Linked DNA regions of Homo sapiens: region 1 is linked to region 2. Evidence: promoter capture Hi-C in 16 types of primary human blood cells and fetal thymus (Javierre and others, 2016). All regions are on one chromosome and are shown on one strand. The core of a region is centred on a gene start or on the middle of the fragment in contact, and the rest is flanking DNA. Distances in the headings are between cores, read along the strand shown. Region 1 holds the start of LOC105370216 (a long non-coding RNA gene). Region 2 holds the start of PRR20A (proline rich 20A).

What was found. Contacts are between HindIII fragments. The CHiCAGO score rates a contact against its expected background, and 5 or more counts as called.
Region 1: a fragment that was not itself captured here is called in contact with the fragment with the promoter of PRR20A in region 2 in 4 of 17 cell types (fetal thymus, total B cells, M2 macrophages and 1 more); the score reaches 9.1 in fetal thymus.

What each region holds. Positions count from the first base shown.
Region 1 is chr13:57,212,135-57,218,139 of GRCh38, forward strand. It overlaps LOC105370216 (a long non-coding RNA gene), which reads right to left and starts at 4,596. Exons shown (of 2, transcript XR_941982.1): 1 at 4,497-4,596; 2 at 913-1,093. The HindIII fragment of the contact is 2,467 bases long and covers 3,013-5,479 here.
Region 2 is chr13:57,137,542-57,142,889 of GRCh38, forward strand. PRR20A (proline rich 20A) reads left to right here and starts at 3,377. Exons shown (of 3, transcript NM_198441.2): 1 at 3,377-3,590; 2 at 3,745-3,815; 3 at 4,837-5,348. The coding sequence starts at 3,764. LOC124903235 (a long non-coding RNA gene) reads right to left here and starts at 197. Exons shown (of 2, transcript XR_007063920.1): 1 at 130-197. The HindIII fragment of the contact is 41,430 bases long and covers 1-5,348 here.

The DNA of each region.
Region 1 (6,005 bases), core at 2,996-5,495, 75 kb after region 2:
AAAACTTATCATATTTAGGTAAAAAATTCTACATAATATTAAATGTTAAAAAATCTTCTAAACTATTTGATTCTTCTCTCTTTTCTTCTTTATTAATCTTGCTAGCGGTCTATCAATTTTGTTGATCTATTCAAAAAACCAGCTCCTGGATTCATTGATTTTTTGAAGGGTTTTTTGTGTCTCTATCTCCTTCAGTTCTGCTCTGATCTTAGTTATTTCTTGCCTTCTGCTAGCTTTTGAATGTGTTTGCTCTTGCTTCTCTAGTTCTTTTAATTGTGATGTTAGGGTGTCAATTTTAGATCTTTCCTGCTTTCTCTTGTGGGCATTTAGTGCTATAAATTTCCCTCTACACACTAGTCATTTGGAAGATAGTACTAACTTGATTTCAGTAAAAAAACAAAGAGAGTCATTGTAAACAAGTCAGAAAAAAAAACTTTTTCAGAATGAGCAAGGGATTTAGAACAATATATACAAATATTATATATATATTTTAATGTACAAAAAAACTGAAGCTGCTTTGTAATAGGTATTGTTTATGCTTTAAGAATGCACTCTTTCTCTAAAGGAAAGTGATGCAAAACATTCATGAATCATCTTTCAGACAGAAAACACAAGGATTTGCCAATATCAGTGAAGGTGACCCTCTTTAAGAGTTTTCTTTCTTTTTGTCTTCATACTCCACCAGGCCCTTAGATAAATTTAAAAATATCATTTGTACTTAAAGAATATATCTTAATTTAAATTTAAGTCTAAAGAACTTTACAATTTAACAGAAAATCTTGATAATGCTCTGTAGTTTGTCTTTATAGGGAAGACTTTATAAAACAAAAGACAGCACCAAAAAATGACTTGGCGGTTTACAACTATAAAAAATAAATCTGCTGCCGGGAACAACAGAATATGAAACAAGGCTGGAAATTCATCAATATATATTTTTTTATCCTGGAGCAGAGCTGGTTGAACAGATGTGGTGGGATTTATGTTTAGGAAGTGAAAAGTATCCTGGATCTACACAAAAGGGTTATTTGTTCAGTGGATTGTCCTGTGGGATGTCCATGGTGAGGCAGCAACACTTGTAACCCTGGTTTATTCCCTAGAGTCAAGAAAGCACAAGAACATTATTCACTCATGCTTCCTCATAAGAGATGGTCTGGCATTAAAATTAAGAGTAAGTACTATGAAAAACAATATAACAAGCACTATTTTTAATTTAACAAGATGAATTAATTATGAAATAACTCAAATTTTAATTATATATTACAATAAAATCCGATGAAAAGGTAACAGAGTTTGTTTAATCAACACAAACAAAATGTTGTTTTTAATATTTTTATAAATGTTTTCAAATATAATTATCTTAAATAATCCAGACAGTTTACAATTCATATAGCTCATATAAATGCCAACATTAACAGTTTTAAGCAGTTTGTGGGAAAATGATCAGCCAAACTACATATTCAAAGTCACCTTCTGCAAAGTTTCCATTTACTATGACTTTTTACATTCATCAATTATTGATGAATGGGTATATACCTGAAGGAATTGAAATCAGCTTGTTGAAGAGATGTCTGCACTCCTATGTTCATTGCAGAATTATTCACAATAGCCAAAATATGGAAAAACCTAATGTGTATATATACACATTCCAATGTATATGAAACTGTGGCATATATACAGAATATTCAGCCTTAAAAAACTGAAAATTCTGTCATTTGAAACAACATAGGTCAACCTAGAGGATATTATGTTGAGTGAAACTGTATAAAACTGTTAATGTTGGCATTTATATGAGGTATATGAATTCTGAACTATATGGATTATTTATGATAATTAAATAATAAGAGAGACAAATACTATATGATTTCATTATATGTGTAATTTAAAAATTCAAACTCATAGAAGTGGAGAGTAGAATGATGGTTACCAGAGGCTGGGGGCAGGATGTGGACAGGGAAAGGGGAGAAACTGGTCAACAGGTGGAAAGTTTCAGTGAGATTGGAGGAGTAAGTTCTGGTGTTCTATTGCACAGCATGGTCATGAGAGTTGATGATAATCTATTTTATATTTCAAAATAGCTAAAAGGAAGAATTTTGAATCTACTCATCACAAAGAAATGATAAATAGCTGAGGTGATGAATATGGTAATTGGTCTGATTTGATTATTTCACAATGTATAAATGTATTGAAGCCTTCACATCATATCCATTAAATATATACAATCATTATTCATCAATTAAAAATAAAGCTAAAATAGAGACAAATAATAATCGATGTAAACCTAAATAGTCTGCAACTTAGAGTAGCTCCTTTATTTGGTCAAACATATGAAACTTGTGTCCAAGAAAAGGAAAAATAAATAAATAAAAACCTGGTCATATGACATAAAATACAGTATTTGGAAATGGCTCACACTCCCAATGGCCAATAGCACACACATTCCATTAAAGCAAGTTGCATAGTAAAGGCTTATATCAGTGGGACAGGACAGAACCCAGAAGAGAAAGAAAAAACATATTTTGACTAATAAAATCTAAAACAACACGTGTAGATAAAAATATAGCTATATTTTAACACCCATGTCAATATCTTAATTAAGCCAATCCTCATCCTCAATTGTAGATGGGTTTGTTAGAATTTGGTATGGAATTGTAATAGATTCTGATTTAATAAACTGGTTAGCTCTCCAGTGTTTAATGTTTAATGGCTTATATACTTAAATGACATACTGTTTATTGATAATGAAAAATATAGGAAAGCTCCTAAAAATCCTAATTAAAAATTTCACTGAATTATAAGTATTTATGAATCTTAAATGCTGATTTGAGAAAACATATATAAATATTATTATGAACCCTGGAACATAAACACACAATTTTAAGGGTAATCTGAATTAAATTTTTAAAATATCAGTGTCTTTGATGAACATTGGCTGCATTGGTTTTTTACCAGTAATAATTTCACAGCAATACCAATGACTTAAATCACATATTAATTGATCATTAATTTATCTTAAGCTTCTCTTAAATTACCATTCAGGATTGTGGTATATTTTAATTCTTAAGGTAAATATGTGCTAAAACTGAAAAAGTTTCCAGTGAAAAGAAAGCAGATAAAAATTACATGCAGAACACCAAAGGTATTAGAAAATAAAATTAAAGAAAAGGAGGGAAAGCAAAACATGAAAAATACTTTGGTAGATATAATAATATGATTTTTAAGAGCTGTCGAAGACAGAACAAAAGGAAAGTAATATGACACACAACTGATACCTGCACGAGAAGTAAATACTACAGAAAAACTAGTGGAGATAATTCATATATCTGGCAACATATCCATCTTTGGTCAGGAAGACTGATTTGTTACCTAGATTGTGAGTGATGAGAATCAGGAAAACTTAAAAGTTTTTCTTTTTTTTTTTTTTTTGGAGTATATACAACATATGTGCAAGTCTTTTGTGACTAAAATGAGATAATATGTTCTAGTTGAGCAATAAAATAGGAATAATTTTTTAAAACGTATTCAGATTTTATATTCTTGGTGTGGTGCAAGGGTGAGTGGGGAGACAAGAAGTTCAAAGTTGCAAAAGTCTAATATGGTAGAATATGCAAGAAAGAAGTATTACAAGGAACATGCAGAAGAAAGGCAAGCATGGTTTGAACAAATGAATTAGTGAATAATAAGAAAGAATTTAGTTCCAATAGTCTTATTTTTGTTTGTTTTAGTACTGATGGAATTTAATTTGACTGGCTATGCAGAGCTACAAAGGTTCTATGTTCCCAACTCAGGTCATTCATTTTGATTATCGATTATTATACTCAAGGTAAATGGATTTATATGTGAACTTCAAAGAAATAGTAAGTAGGCAACCAAGAGTGTGCTGAAATCACTTAAAGTTTAGAGAAAATAACTTTTGGGTGAAAAGTGTTTTACATAGATGATGAGATCAGGTAGGATTTTTTAAAATTATTGTTCTATTTTCATTGCTTGTTTTACCTTTAAGTTTTACCTGAAAGTATGGATATTGTTTTTAAAGTACCAAGCAATAAAAATAATGTTATATAAGAAATTTTAACATGAGATGTGAGGTGGTATTAGAATTTTTACACAGAGTTGAAATTATGCCCAAATGTTACCCTCTACTAAATGTAAACACAATATTGTATTATGATAAAACAAAAATAATTTACGATTATACAGTGAAGATGATATTTCTGTTGTATATATATTACATTTCTTCAAATTTTACTTCCTTTTTATGTTCTATTTTTCTTTAACACTATGATAGGTTGAATTACATGTGTATATTTATATATACACACACTCTCGAAGTTGTTTACAGTTTTATCTTGGCTATAATAAATGAAACACCACATATTCTGTCTATGCAAGTTGCCTATACTTCCTGCTGCATTTTCTGGAAGTGCTAAGAGAGCAAAATATCAACTGCAATAGTGGCACCCTCCTTAGATATATTGCAGTCTTTGCACATCACCTACCTTATGAGTTGGTGTTAGAATACAAACTGTACGGCCGGGCGCGGTGGCTCAGGCCTGTAATCCCAGCTCTTTGGGAGGCGCAGGCAGGCGGATCACGAGGTCAAGAGATGGACACCATCCTGGCTAACATGGTGAAACCCCGCCCCTGCTAAAAAAAGAAATATATACACAAAAATTAGCTGGGTGTGGTGGCGCGCGCTGGTGGTCCCAATTACTGAGGAGGCTGTGGCAGGACAATGGGTTGAACCTGGGAGGCGGAGTGAGCCAAGATCGCTCCACTGCACTCCAGCCTGGTGACACAGCGAGACTCCGTCAAAAAAAAAAAAAAAAAAATTCTACCGTTATAAAAGGCACCCATATGGAATGACGGTTAAATAGAATCATATCAACCTCATCCTTCTGTTTGAGGCTGAATTGCTTCTCCCCAAAATTCATATGTTGAGGTCGTAACCTCCAGTGCCTCAGAGTGTGGCCATGTTTGGAGACGGTGTCTTTGAAGGAGTGCTTAAGTTAAAATGAGGTCTTTAGGGTGGGTCCCAGTCCAATGCCACTGGTGCCCTTATAGAAACAGGAAATTTGGATACACAGAGAGACAGCAGGCACACGTGCAGAAACAGAGATGACCATGTGAAGAGACAGTGAGAAGATGGCCATCTGCAAGCCAAGTAAAGAAGAAACAAAACACCAACAGCCCTGCCAACACCTTGATCTCATATTTTCAGACTCCAGAATTATGATAAATTAAACACATTGTTTAATCCACATAATCTTCAGTATTTTGTTAAGCCAGCCCTAGAAAATTAATACACTGCCTGTTTAGACTGTGAATATACATCATGAGAAACCCATTGCTTTGAGTCTTTTGATTTCTATGATTTTTTTATTGTTATAAACAACACTTATCAGCATTTAACCTTCACTGAAATAACCAGTTCGGAAACAAAAAACATTAAGAAGTTATTTTCTGTGTATGAGTATCATGAAGCTTTAAAGAGCCTCTATATAGATGCCGCTATAGCTGAGGGAATTTATTAGGGACATAGCAATCGGCCCGTTTATCCTTTATCATCTCAGACTGGCAAAATTAGTTCATTTTTCCTCAAAGTTATGCCAACCCCAGTCCCTGACAGAAGAACCATCCCTTCAATCCAACCTAAAATATTTTTTCTAAACATTTCTCAGTCCAATCCAATCCTCCATCTTTCACTGCTTTCTTCATACCTTTCACTACTTTATTATTATTATAGTAAACTTTTCTATATGTCTAGATCTATAATATTTTAAATTACATTTTCTTTCTTTGCTTTTACGGAAAACAGCTGTCAATTGGGCAATACTTCTCCTATAACCCCATCAGTCTGAAACTATTTCTGTTGTTTCATATACCAGTGTTTGGGCGGTAAAGTGGTATACTACAGTTCCCACATATGGATCATTAGTGTCCTAAAAGACACGACCACAATCAACCACAGAAACCATCAGATCAAAATTTCTTTTTTACTGTGCATT
Region 2 (5,348 bases), core at 2,127-4,626:
CTATTCAAGCAAATATATCTCAATAAAAGTGTCTGTAATTCTATTTATTTGTACATTTATTTTATCTCTTCTGTGTTTTTGTAACGAAGCCTGTATTTCATAAAAATCACAAGACTTTGTTTTACTTACTTTCTTTCTCTTCGTTCTTTTCTTTCTCCATGCATGCTTGCTTGCATGTAGTAGTTTCAGTAGGGAGTAGTCACTAGCAATTGATTAACTTCACATCCCAACCTCCAAGCACAGCCCATAGGATTCATAAACTTGTTTGTCTTTCAAAGAACAATGAACCTTAGACCATGCAGACCTCTTTGATGGCAACTAGAAGTCGGATCAGGCCAAAGGACGCAAACAGCTTTGATTATAAGGGCATCTCACCCCTCACATACATACCTTACTCATAAAATCCACCAAATATGTTCAAAGACAGGTAGGATTTGAGAGATTTCTCTCTCCTGCCCTCTTGTTTTGGCCAAATTGAATAAAACTCTCTCTGCTCCTAGGAGCTGAGGTGTCAGTTTTTGGTTTACTATGTATCAGGAACATTAACCTAAATTGGGGGATTCTACAACATTTTGAACCAAGTATATGTGTTTCCCAAAATTGTTTATTACTTCATAATTTTTCTATTCAGACAGTGATGATTGCTAAAAACTAAGGTGTCCCCAAGTGCAACATTGTTTCTAGATCATAAACCCAATGTGAAGCAGAATAGTATGTGTTTTGCTCAATATTTTACCCCTAGTCCCTAGACACTGCTTAGCCTGTAGTCATTAAAGGGACATCAGTGGAAGGACACCAACAACAACAACAACAAAAAAAAAAAAAAAAAAAAAAAAGAGGAAGAAGAAGAAGGAGGAAAGAAGGAAAGCAGAAAGGTGAGGATGAGCCAGGTTAGATATTGGGTTGTCAGTCAATTAATACAATCATGTCTAACACTTCTAAAAACACAGAAAGAAAATTTACAAGTCTCAACATTAGGTACTATTGCTCATTTTCTCTTTGACCTGCATGAAATTAAGAACTTGTTAAAATTCTTGGGATCTTAATTCAGACACAAAATATATAGATTTATCAAGTATATATGAAATACCGTATAGTCTTCCATGCCATCTTCACTACCCCATCCACCTTATCCATCATGTCTTCCACCTCCCAACTCTGTGTGTGCCCTTGCATCCCCTGAATTAAGAACGTGCTATCTCTGGAGGGATATTCACAGGATAGAGGATTCCTTCCAAGCAGGAAACTGAATGTTGCATGAGGAACACTTCTCGCCACTGATACAAAAGTTGAAGGATTGTGGGATGGGTGGAGCAGGGGTGAGGGAATTTTTTTCTTTAATTTTTGTTTAAATTATGCTTTAAGTTCTGGGATACATGTGCAGAACGTGCAGCTTTGTTACATAGGTATAAAGGTGCCATGATGTTTTGCTGCACCCATTAACCCATCATCTACATTAGGTATTTCTCCTAATAGTCTCCCTCCCCTAGATTCCCAGTCCCTCACAGACCCCAGTGTGTGATATTCCCCTCCCTGTGTCTATGTATTCACATTGTTCGACGCCCACTTATGAGTGAGCACATGTGATATTTGGTTTTCTTTTCCTGTGTTAGTTTGCTGAGATGGGAGGTTGACAAAGGGACACGGAAGCCAACTAAAGGAGCTCCCGGTGGCCAAAGCTGGAAACATTGAGTAACAAAGTAATTACCTAAATAATTAATAATTAAATAGTTAAGTAAAATACTTGACAAAATAATTAGTTCAATTATTAAATAATTCATCCCCTGAAGTACTGGAGTGTAAACCAAAGCATACAATAGGTGTCCATAAGTCCATACGGATATAAATAAGTGATTAAATAAACAAACATGTGGGGGAGAATGGGAAAATCCTCCACACAGGAGAACTCCACAGAACTTAGGTAGCTATTCCCCTGCAAGGAGATAAAGCAAAACTTCCCTTTTCTTTACGTATAGGCTACAGGTAGCGACTTCCAGAAAGCACAGTAGAGAAAGAGGTGGGAAAATCACTTTATGGTGGAGAAACCTAATCAACACTGCCCCAGCCCGGTGACCAGGACTAATAGCAGCAGTGATAAGCCGGCTTGATGGTGTGTACTCTAGACAGGATGGGATGGGAATGGCGCTTTCCCGCTGCAATCTTCCTGACAAAAACATATAATTCCAGTCAGATCACAAGGAATACATCACACGAACTTCAGGAGAGGACATCCCACAATATATCTGATCAGTATTCAAAGTGTCAGAGTCATCAAAAACAAGGCAAGTGTGAGAAACCGTCGCAGCCAAGGGGAACCGTGACGAGTTGTAAGGTGGTACCCTGGATGGGGTCTTGGGACAGAAAAGGTATGTGAGGTGAAAGCATAGCAAAACCTCACTTCAACAGGAAATACAACCCAAAAAAGTAATTGGCCCGGCATGGTGGCTTGCGCCTGGGGTCCCAGCGACTCGGGAGGTTGAGCGGGACGGACGGCTTGAGCTCAGGCCTTCCAAACAAGCCTGGGCACATAGCGAAAACTCGTCTCTCCAAAAAAATCCGAAAATTATCCCGATGTGGTGGCGCTCACCTGTAGTCCAGCTACTCCGGAGGCCGAGACAGGAGAATCACTTGAACTGATTCTCCTATCTCAGCCACCCCCCCCCAACCCCCCCAAGTAGCCGCAGCGAGCCGAGATGGCACCGCTGCACTCCAGCCTGGGCTACAGAGCGAGAACCAGTCTCTGTAAAAAACACAAGGATGCAAACCAACCAAATAACCCACTGTGGGATCCCCTCCAGCGTCCTGCTGTGTTTCCCGCTGTCTTCCTCCACCCGTGAGTGCACCCACAGCAATAAAAGCCAGCGGTGTGGGTCTCACACGCATCTCCAGCCCCGTCTCACACGCACCACCTCCGGGCCTGGACTTGGCCTCCCGTCCATTCCCAGAATGTGCCGGGCTCCCTTCCAGTCCGGGCCTCAGCACACTCTCTTCACTCCCCTTCCTCCCTCCCTGCCTCTCCCAACCCGGTTCAGGATGACTAATTTCAAACGTTATGTTCCAGATTTCAGCCCAGATATCCCCGCTTTGGATGCTTTCCTTGACCATGCTCAGATCTAAGCTAATCGCATCTTCCTGTCAGCCGCTTTCAGGGCACCACACCTCATTGTGCTGACACTCAGAGGTCATTATGCAATTTTTTTTCCTCGATGATTAGATTAATCAATCAACCACGGACGTCTAGAAATGGCGGCATCTCAGAAGGGCCCCCATTTGACTGGCAGGGGACTGGCCCAATGCGCCTCGCAAGCCCAGCCAGGCCCGCCCCAGCCGGCCCCCCTCTGACGACGCCTGTCCCTTACGCGACTGCCTTGCTGCCATATAAGAGGGACGGCGCTCGGCCTCCAGCAGTCGGCTTTCTGCTGGGCTCGGAGCCAGAACCTGCTGCGTGCTCCCTCCAGACTCCCTGGCTGCGGGTGGACTACCTCAGAGCTACAGCGGTGAACCTGTGGACACCTCCGACTCCTCGGGCCTCTCTTCGTCGAAGAGTCTCCTAATTTTCAGATCTCCGGAGCCAGCTGTGGGAAGATCAGGTGTGTGTCTGGGGGTCCCGGAGGCGTGGACGGATCTCGGGTGGGTGCAGTTGGGGACAGAATCCTCATTCCCCTAGAAAGGCCACGGCCATCCCCCTGCCTTGTCACCTCTGTCTTCCTAAATCCGTTCTTGCTCTCTTGTTTTTCTCCCCAGCCCCTCCCGCCGATTGCTCATGGAGGAACCAAGGCCTTCGAAGCGACTTCGCTCCATGGCCCCTAATCAAGGTACATCAAACGCCTGCCACTCCTCTCTTTTTAATTTCGTCTGTTCCCCAATTCTTCCCCAATGGTTGACACTCAAACTCAATCAAGCATTCTCTGTTTCACCTTCTCCTAGCCTGCCTCAACCTGGGCTGCTTGTTGGAAGTCAGCTCCCGGGTTCCACATCATCTGGGAAATTCCTTTCCCTCTTCCGAACCGTAATCCCATTTCCCAAATCTGAGATTTGCTGTTGTTGTCGCTGTTTCCTTCTGTTTAGTTTTGTATTACTGTTTCTCCGTAGCAGAGCGAGTCCTCACGCTACGTCTTGATCTATGATAAACCGGTACTTCCACCTTGTTCTTTCCCGGAGGAGTTGGAATTTTCCGGCTGTTGCCACGTTGTTCTCCAAAACTTTTCCCTTCATACGCTGAGTGTCCTAAATCTTTTAATCTTGTCTAGTTTGACAGATGCATAACAATAAAGCATCCACTGAAAGGAAATTCTTTAACATCTTGCTTGTCTGAAACATCTTCATTCTCCCCTCCCAGATTCTTCAGCGAAACTTCGGTTGGACAGGAAATTTTAGGTGGGAAATTCATTTCCCTTGAAATTTCGAAGACATTTTCTGTTATGTTCTAGACTGAACTGCTGCTTTTGAGATGTCTGACTTTTGAGACATGTGGAATCCTAGCCCTTTCCATGTGACTTTTCCTTTCTCTGTCTCCCGCTCTCTAGAATCTGTTAGAATCTTCTCTTTTTCCTCAGCACTCTGAAATTTTCTGGTGAAATGTCTCAGCCACAGCATACCTCTAATTCTCTTATATTTCATCCTTCTTTCCATCATTTTAGGTTTTTGCTTTGTTCTGTGGGAGACCTTCTCAACTTCATTCTCCAACTTCCGTGGAGAGTTTTGTTTCTTCTCTCACAATTTTAACTTCAGAAATCCCTCTTTTCTCTGAGTATTTATTTGTAAAAGTATCCTATAACTGCTTGACGGGTGAAGTTCCTTCTGTCTCTCTCTGCTCACGCTCCGCTTCTCTTTTAGCCTCAGGTGGGCCTCCTCCAGAGCCAGGCTGCTGTGTTGCGGACCCTGAAGGCTCCGTGGAAGCAGATGGGCCCGCACAGCCAGCCCAACCCGCAAAACCCATCGCTTACGTGAAACCCTTCAGACGGCAGCCCCCAGCTCGCCCAGAGTCACCCCCTCCTGCAGAGAGAGGCCGGCGCCGGGGAGGAAGCCGGCGGCCAGGGCGAGGCCGTGGCAGAAGGGCTGGGCCCCGCGGGGACGCTGGCCAGAGACAGGGGGCAGAAGGCTTGATGGCACCGGACGTGCACATCCAACTGGACCACCATGGAGAGCCAGGCCACCAGGGGGAACCGGAAATCACGGAGACCGCAGCCTTCTCCCTTTCTGAAACAGGTCCTCCGCCTGGAACTGTGCAGGAAGGCCCTGGCCCCGACGTGGCGCAACCTGAGCTGGGGTTTCAGGAGCCGCCCGCTGCTCCTGGGCCTCAGGCTGTTGACTGGCAACCCGTCTTGACCCTCTATCCCTGCATCGGG